2 separate regions of the Homo sapiens genome follow, and region 2 is linked to region 1. Evidence: promoter capture Hi-C in human tissues and cell types (Jung and others, 2019). All regions are on one chromosome and are shown on one strand. Each heading gives the region's core, a stretch centred on a gene start or on the middle of the fragment in contact. The rest is flanking DNA. Distances are from core to core; before and after follow the strand shown. Region 1 holds the start of SP140L (SP140 nuclear body protein like). Region 2 holds the start of LOC112268431 (a long non-coding RNA gene).

Region 1 (4,437 bases), core at 928-3,427:
AAAAACATTCCCTGTTGCCTGTACTCCTTGCAGCCATAGAAAATGCTCCAGGAGTTCCATTATTTCCTTCTAAACAATCCAGCAGGATTTTTAGAACTTCATACTACTTCTTAATTTGGTCCTGTCCCTTTCCCAACCCAGGTGTGTCTGATGTATTCCAGATCAAAGAAACTTTGCTTTTCCCACAGAAGCCTAGAGATTCTCCATTAACTGGCATTGCTTTTGCAGAGTGTGGTGTGTGCTCAGCTTTTTCCAACCCTGTCTGACAAGAACATCTCCTTCCCTGCTGTCAGGAGCTGCCCTAGCAAGGGCATGTCCACCTGTAAAGGTCAACACTTGCAGATTTCCAGCCAGCTCATTGGTCTGGAATTCCAGCCCCTAAGCACACCCAGAGAAAAGCTGGTACATATGTCAGTGCCACTCAGTGGCCTGGGCCTGCTTGCTGCCCAAGAGCAGTGAGAGGGGTGAGTGCAGACGCCAGAGCCGACTGGTGTGGTCCGCGCCAGGCCTTGTCAGTGCTGCTGTGCTCCATGGAGACTGGGATCAGAGGACAACTGTGCCCAACAGATGCTCAGCTTACCAGCCACTGTGCCTCCATAAAACTGGGGAGTCATGGGGGAGCGAGCAAGAGAAAGAGAGAGAGAGACCTACAGGTGTGCAGTACCTGATAGAAACAGTGACCTCGCCCACTGGAAAAGCTGTCCTCACCAGTGTCTTGGCACCTGCTTATTAACTCATTTTGGGGAAAGCAGGGCACCAGTAGAATCAGGGTAGAAACCCCCCACCCTCGTATTTTCAAATGTACCTGAACAAGCATTCACAGCTTCCAACTATTGTGCAATAAACAGCAAAAAAAAAAAAAGTCCTTGAACCAAAATTGTCCTTAGCTGCTCTGCCCTCTAAGATGGGGCATAGTTTACATGGGAGTTGGGGGAGGACTCCATGTTTGCCCCTTCCCCTTGCTGAGATGGCTGGGGGTGGGGGCTGGAAAAAGTTGGATTCAGCAGAATGTAATTTGGAAAACATGGCTCTGGAGCACCATCCCCTCTGGCCCCTGAATCCTCACCAGCTTCCACCCTCTGCTCACCTTGGGCCCTGGATTCCAGCGCCCCCAGGCTCCCAGCTGCCTCCCTGTCTCTGCCCCATGGTCCAGCCTGGAGTTCTGGTCCCTGGTTGTGTCCTGTGGCCCCATTCTCATGCGCCCTTTGCTTCTATTTCTTTACCTATGACTTTATACTGATGTAAAGCGAGTCTTCTCGGTCGCTTCTTGTTCTCTGAGGAATGTTGAATCAGAATCTAAATGGAAAATCTGGGAAGAGATAGAACCTCCCGCGGGAGCCACCCTGCCCTTCCATGTCTAGATCATCTGGGTTCCAACCTCCATCCTCCTCCAATGAGAAGCTTTTGTTCTCTCAAGATTCCAGTGACTTCTCCGAAGCTCTCTTCATCCCTGGCTGTTCCAAGGTGGCCCCATAGTCAAGATTCCTTAAACCCTTGCCCCTTAAAATGTTTGCCTTTCTTACCATGCTGGCTCCAGCCTCTGGTCCCAGGGGTGTGGAGAGTTCTCTCTTACTTCTGGCTGATTTCCAGGAAGGCTAAGAACACTCTCCCCAGGTTATAATGCTGAGCATTTTGGTTCTCTCCAGCCCTGGGTCCCCATGTCAGGACCTACCTTAGTCCAGTCCATGCTCTCCCATGGGCCTGAGAGAAGATTTGAAGTTTCTGGCTTTCCCTCCAACCCTCCAACTCTCACCCCCAGCCATTTCAGCAAGGGGAAGGGGCAAACATGGAGTTTTCCCCCCAACTCCCATGTAAACTATGCCCCCTCTTAAGAGGGCAGAGCAGCTAAGGACTATTTTGGTTCAAGGACATTTTTTTTTTTTTTGCTGTCCATTGCACAAGCAAGTGGACTCCCGGAAGCCAGCCCTGCTCGTCCTCTGGGCCCTCCTTTCCCTGGTCCTGCAGGTCTTGCTGCTTGTCAGGCCTCTCCTCCAACCGTCTGCCACATTTCAGAAAAGCTGAGAACCCCTTGGAGTGAAAAAGGAGGAGAAACACGGTGTCTGTATCCCAGCAGGAAGTTAAATAAATACTTTCACTTTTCTTTTCCCCATTTGGGCAGAAATCTGTGAGGGTGAGTCAGTCTGTCGGCCGACTTCCTGCTCCGGGTCAGGGCAGCCACACTGCACGCAGGCTGGGCCGACTGGGGAGCTCATAGGCCAGGCTCTGACACCCAGGCAGGGCCTAGGGTGGGACGATGGCAGGTGGGGGCAGCGACCTGAGCACCAGGTGAGTCTTTATCTCTCTTCCTTTCACCTTTATCTCTGGCAGTATTGGAGCTTTCATGCCTGTAGTTCAGTTTCTGTCTAAAGCTTCAGTTTAGTCCTGCTTTGCAAGAACATAGGTAGGTAGTGTAATATAATGGAATAAAAGAGAATGTAATAAGGAAATCAGATTTTTACAACTGCAGCAGGACAGCTGTTTGTGTGAGTCCAGCTTGCCATAACACAGATGACTTTTCTTGTTTTGAAACTACTGCTCAGCTGGCGGGGACACTCTGAACAGTCGTTTCAGTCATTTGTGACTGAGAGTTATTATTTCCTCATGAGAATGAGGAACACAAATTATATGTTTGTGTTTCAACAAACATTTCCTCATGATCTCCCAACCCTTTCACATCCCTCTGCCCTCTCTACCTTCACATATGTCATGTCAAAGAAGGTAGTTTGGAAATAGACACTCCAGGGTAAACAGCTGGCTTACTTTTAAACATTGGAAACTGTGGTTTCACCTGTCTTGGCAAGGGGCCTCAGTCAGCTTTGGGGCTATTTCCTTGACTGACTCAGGGTGTGAGTTCTGATACAATTGACCTTGATCCAAAGAAGGAAAAAGAAGAAAAAGGCCCAGGATGGCAGAAAGCTAAATATTTTTATTTTTACTTCAATTTCCTGTCCCAAGATGGGGGATGCCTCTGACCAGAAAAGAGATGGAAATCCTATCTTTTCTCTAGTAACGAGTTTATAAATAACATTACGTAATCTTTTTATTTTATTTCATTTTTTTGAGACAGGGTCTCACTCTGTCAACCAGGCTGGAGTGCAGTGGCACAATCCCGGCTCACTGCAACCTCTGTCTCCTGGGTTCAAGCGATTTTAATCTTTTAAATTTTTTAATACAAAAGAAATACATTACATTCTTACTCATAAAATTTCAAACAGTGGAGAAGTGTATAAACGAAAAAGTCTTCTTCACCACTCACTTCGCCTTGTAGCTTCCTTTCACAGTCTTGTGAAGAGTCTTCGGCATAACTTTTCTCATATTTTTCGATGCATTTACGTGTATGAAGTATGTTTTTGTAAACATATAATTTGTGTTCTCGTTTTGTAATAAATGGAATTACATTGTGCGTGCTATTCTGCATTTTGCATTTCTACTCATTTTAATGGTGGAAATCTTAGAGATCTTTTCACCTTAATGCATATAGATCTACCTCACTCTTTTTACATATACTATTCCATAGAATTTACATAGCATAATTTTTTAACCATTCTCCAATTGAAGGACATTTAGATTGTTTTAAATTGTTCACGTTTATCAATAAGCTATAATAATGATTATATATTTCTCTTTTTTTTGCACATATGCAAGTATTTCTCTTGTGCCTAAACCTTAAAAAGTGGAATTGTTGAAGCAAAGGGTGCTGTTATTTACTTGTTTATAGATCCTGCCAAATTGTCTTTTTAGGGGGCTGAACGGAGGTGTTTCACAAGTAGCAAATGAGATGAACCATCTTCCTGCACACAGCCAAAGTCTGCAAAGGTGATGAAGAATTACAATTTGTTTTAATTTGTATTTTCCTGATAATGTGGAAAGCTGAACAGCTTTTCATGTTTCTTGGCCACTGAAATTTCCTCTTCCATAATTTTTTTGTTTATTTTTTGCCAATGTGATTCAGTTGAGGTGTTTGTCTTTTTTTCATGATATGGGAGAGTTCACTAAATATTCTGCAAAGTATAAATATACTTTTCTTGTCCCTTACATTTGTATATGGTGACTTTTATCTTATTAACAGCTTAAAATTTCATGTATAAACATCTTACGACATAGATTTTATAAGACAGATGCACCCTCATTATAAATAGTGATGCAGAGAGTTGCTGAGGCACTCTGTGAGCACGGCCAGTTTTTAAAGTCGTTCTTCTGTTAAGGTGGCAGATTTGATTCTGCCTTTGTTCCAGGAAAAGTTCCTTCTCTAAAATCTCTGACATTTTCTTTTTCAATTTTTAGGCAAAATTATTCTTACATTGGAGCAACTTCAGCCTTCACAGCTTTTATCTTCCCCGTGGTCCTTTCATCTTTTCAGTTTTTTACTTTGAGTTCACAATAGTTGTCTCAAACTTTTCCTCCATGACAATTATCTAGTGATATGGTTTGGCTCTG
Region 2 (4,437 bases), core at 1,140-3,639, 260 kb after region 1:
AAAAAAATCAGGAAATGTATATCACCAGATTGACAAAATAAAGGGGAAAAATATATGATAATTTCAATAGATCCAGAAAAAGCTAAAATATAATAAAATATCTGTTCATGATTTTTAACTCTCAGAAAACTAAGAATAGAAAGTAACTTTTTTAATATAATGAAGTATATAAACAAACAAAACCCTATGGCTAACACTATACTTAAATGTGAAATACTAAATACTTCCCCACTCAATTTGAGAACAAGACAAAAATGTCTACTGTCACCATTTCCATTTAACACTTACTAGAAATCCTAGATAATGCAATCAGGTGATAAAAAGAAATGAAAAGAATAAACCCAAAAGGGAGGAAATGTAACTACCATTATTTGCAGATGACTATATACTTGGAAAATCTAAAGAAATGAACTATTAGAATTAATTAGTAACTTCAGTAAAGTATCTGGATTCAAGGTTAATATGCAAAAATCAATTGTATTTTTGTATACTAGCAAATTATAAGTTTAAATAAAAATAGAAAAACAATATCCTTTTCAAAAGCATCAAAACCACTAACAATAAAGGTAAATCTAACAAAAGATGTTCCAGAACACTACACTGAAAATCATAGAACTTTTGCTGAGAGAAATTAAAGAAAGCCAAAATAAATGGAAAGGTATATTTGTGGATTGAAGACTAAATATTAATATGTAAGTTATCCCCAACTGATTCATAGATTCAATATAATTTTAATAAAATTCAAGTGGAATTGTTTGTGGAAATTGACAAATTGATTTTAAAATATAAATGAAAATGCAAAAGACCAAAGTTAGCCAAAAGAGTCTTGAAAAAGAATCACAATGTTTTAACTTCATATAAAGTTACAATAACTAAGACAACATGATATGGGCATAAAGATAAACATATAAATCAACAGAGACTACAAGAAAGAGAAACACACACATAAGGTCACCAAATTTACAACAAAGACACCGCCACATTTCAGTGGGGAAAACGATGGTCACTTCATGAAATGGTATTGTTGGAGCAATTGAACACCCTACCTCATACCATACACAAAAATTTATTTCAAATGAATCATAGACCTAAATATGAAAGATAAAATAGTAAAGCTTCTAGAGCAGGTAGTATAATATCTTCTTGGCTTAAGGTAGGCAAAGATTTCTTGCAAAAGATCCCAAAACACTAACTATGAAAGAAACCACTGACAAATTAGACTTACTTAAAACTAAGAACTTTTGTTCATCAAAAGACACTATTAAGAGAGTGAAAAAAAGCCACAGAATATGTGAAGATATTCACAACACATATCCAACAGAAGACTTCTATGTAGAACATGTAGGAAGAATGTCTAGTAATTAGAACACAAAAATCCCAATTTTTTTTAAAAAAATAGGCAAAATAACAGGCATTTCATAACAAAATACTCAAATGACCAATAAACATATCAAAAAGTGCTCAAAAGCATTGTTTTTCACGGAAATGCAAAGTAAAAGCTCAATGAGATACCACTATGCCAAGATACCACTATCTATTCACCAAAATGGCTAAGATCTACAAAAAAAAAAAAAACCTAGCATCAAATGTTGAGAAGAATATGCTGTTTGAAACACTCATACGTGGCTAGTGGAGTGACAATTAGGACACCCACTTTGGAAAACTGGCAGTGTCTACTAAAGCCACCCTATGACCGGGCAATTACACTCCTAGGTCTATACCAAGAAAAACAAAGCAAAACCAATACAAGAAACCTCAGGGTTCAAATGTCTTTGTCTCACCCAGGTAACATTTGCAAAAGGGTAAGCCAGGATAGGTAGCGTTCCATCACCAGCTATCACTTGCCACTTTTTACCTGATTTCTCAGAGCTTAGTTTCTTCTACTTTACAATATGCAGTTGGCTTTATGACCCAGTTCAAAGAAGTTTTGGAATAAAACTAAGTATAAGTAAATAAATATAAAAACCCACATGGAGAAAGATGACAAAGGAAGGGAGAAAAAGACGCATCCTCTGTTCACTTGCCACCTCCACCTGCTGACTTCCTGGTCCTGCTACTTTCTAGGCTGCAGAGCCCCATGGGGGCTGACACACCATCCGTCAACATCTATGAACTCTCAGGCCCAATGTGGGCTTTCCAACATGGCTCCCAGGGACCAGAACAAAAAGTCTGAACTGACTCACCCAGAAAGTAGAAAAGGGAAGTGAAAGTATTAATATTTCTGAATGCCTCTGTATTTGTGAAAACTAGGCCACAGATAGTGGGGTTTCTCAACTCTTGTGAAAATATGGTAGCCGGGAATTAAGAAGGACTTACAGAATCATGACTGGAGGACCAGAAGAGGGTACAGGCCAAGGAGGAGGAACAGGAGGCCAACTCCAAGAAGTCCATGGAAGTCAGGGGATCATGTGTTTATGCAAAGGAAAGAGGGCAGAAAACTCTATTTGACCAAAGCTGACTGAAGTTGTTTCTAGGTGAAGTAACATAGTTGATGTTAGAGAGAAGTAAAACTCTGTTTGCCTCCTCCCCTTGCAGACATGGCCATGGGAAAAAAAAAAAAAAGGGAAAGACAGAAACTTCCAAGCCTTTCTCAGGCCTATGAGTTGGTGGGGCACATTGTGACCTTGACTGGACAAGTTAGACCCCAAGCATTTGGATATAGGTTGGAGGAAGCTGAAATGCTCTACATCATAAAGTCAGGGGAATGCCCTTAGAAATTTCTGGAAAGCAGGCAGGGAGGAAAAAGAGAAACCTCTGGACCACTGGGGCCAGAGGCAGGAGCCAAGTTGGTAAAAATAGCCAAGCTTTTAAAGATAGTACAGATATAAGGCTTTTAAAAAATATCCCCAGAATTTGACACTCCTCCCATTGACAGGTGGAGTCTGTGTCCCCTTTCCTTTAATCTGGGATATGTGACTGCTTGACCAACAGAATGTTTGAATATGGCAGAAGCAATGCTATGCTGATATTAAGACCAGGTCTTAAACCACAGGAGGGCCCCAGCCAGCCAGCCAGCCATGTGGTGCGCCATATTGGAAGTTGATGCTGCAGCCCTGGTCGAGCTGCCAGGAGATACCCATCTAGAGCAGACACACACCATCTCCACTGAGCTCTGTCCAAACTGCAGGTGTATCACGAAATAAAATAAGACTTTTATTGTTTTAAATCACTGCTTTAGGGTAGTTTTTTTTTTCACAGTAGTATAACTAGAACAGATTTTGAAGTAGGATGCAGTTATAACAAAAACATAAAACATGGGGCATTTGGCTGTGGGACAGAGCAGTGGATGGAAGCCTAAAGGTGTTCCAGAAGATGTCAGTGCAGTGTATGAGAAAGCGAGAGAAACACTAGTGGAATCTGGAGGAAGGAGACCCTTGTTATATAGTAGTAAAAGTTCTGTAAAACTCTCACCTGCAGTCATGGGGAAGTAGAAAATGTACCTAACAAAATCAATGACCTAGAGATGTCCAGGCAGTGGAGCTCAGAAATGATTCTCATGGGATGGGCCAAGAGGATGAGAACCAAGATTATCTAGGTCTTAAGGGGTGAGATGAAGATCCAGCTACATTTATGTTTGTACACAGTGATTTTTTTCACTCATACTCTGATATTATTCAAGAAAGATTTGAAGTGACTTTTTAAAATACTGAAATGTATCAGTACAAAGTTAAAGATAAATTGGAGCAAAGAGAGAATGAAAGTAGGACATGAACTAAAACCAGGGACCAGAACTCTGAGCCGAACTGTGGGGCAGAGACAGGGAGGCAGCTGGGAGCCCCAGGGATGCTAGAATCTAGGGCTTAAGGTGAGCAGAGCCCAAAAGCAGGTGAGGATTCAGGGGCCCCAGGGGTACCGTGATCCAGAATGATGCTTTCCAAATCATGTTCCACTGAATCTGACTTCTGACTGTTTTTTGGTTTGTTTGTTATGTTTTGTTTTGTTTTTGATACAGAGTCTCGCTCTGTCACCCAGGCTGTAGTGCAGTGGCATGATCTTGGCTAACTGCAACCTCTACCTCTCTGGTTCAAGCAATTCCCCTGCCTCAGCCTCCCGAGTAGCTGGGACTACAGTCACACGCCACCACATCTGGCTAATTTTTCTTGTATTTTTAGTAGAGATGGGGTTTCACCATGTTGGCCAGACTGGTCTCAAACTCCTAACCTCAGGCAATCCACCCACCTCAGCCTCCCAAAGTGCTGGGATTACGGGTGTGAGACACTGCGCCTGGCTGACTGTTTAAGAGGAATCCCAGGACATAAGGGTTCTGTGCCCAAATAATGAAAAATGTGGGTCAACGAGGCTTCTATCCTTCTTCTCCTGCACCCCCCACCCCTGGCTTGCGTTCTTGCGTTTCTCTCCCCACAAATTGGGTACACATCCCAGCACGCCAATGAGGACATCTTCACCGGTGGACAGGCACATGCAGGTCCTGCACAT

The links. The method cuts DNA at HindIII sites, captures the fragments that hold promoters and counts their contacts. A contact is called where the count stands out against the background at its distance.
Region 2: a fragment that was not itself captured here is called in contact with the fragment with the promoter of SP140L in region 1 in 3 of the 25 tissues and cell types used here (hippocampus, lymphoblastoid cells and spleen).

What each region holds. Positions count from the first base shown.
Region 1 is chr2:230,325,016-230,329,452 of GRCh38, forward strand. SP140L (SP140 nuclear body protein like) reads left to right here and starts at 2,178. Exons shown (of 19, transcript NM_138402.6): 1 at 2,178-2,286; 2 at 3,742-3,816. The coding sequence starts at 2,255. RefSeq lists an enhancer at 1,852-2,321. The HindIII fragment of the contact is 8,396 bases long and covers 1-4,437 here.
Region 2 is chr2:230,587,528-230,591,964 of GRCh38, forward strand. LOC112268431 (a long non-coding RNA gene) reads right to left here and starts at 2,129. Exons shown (of 5, transcript XR_002959453.2): 1 at 1,971-2,129. RefSeq lists enhancers at 1,727-1,876, 2,037-2,286. The HindIII fragment of the contact is 6,376 bases long and covers 1-4,437 here.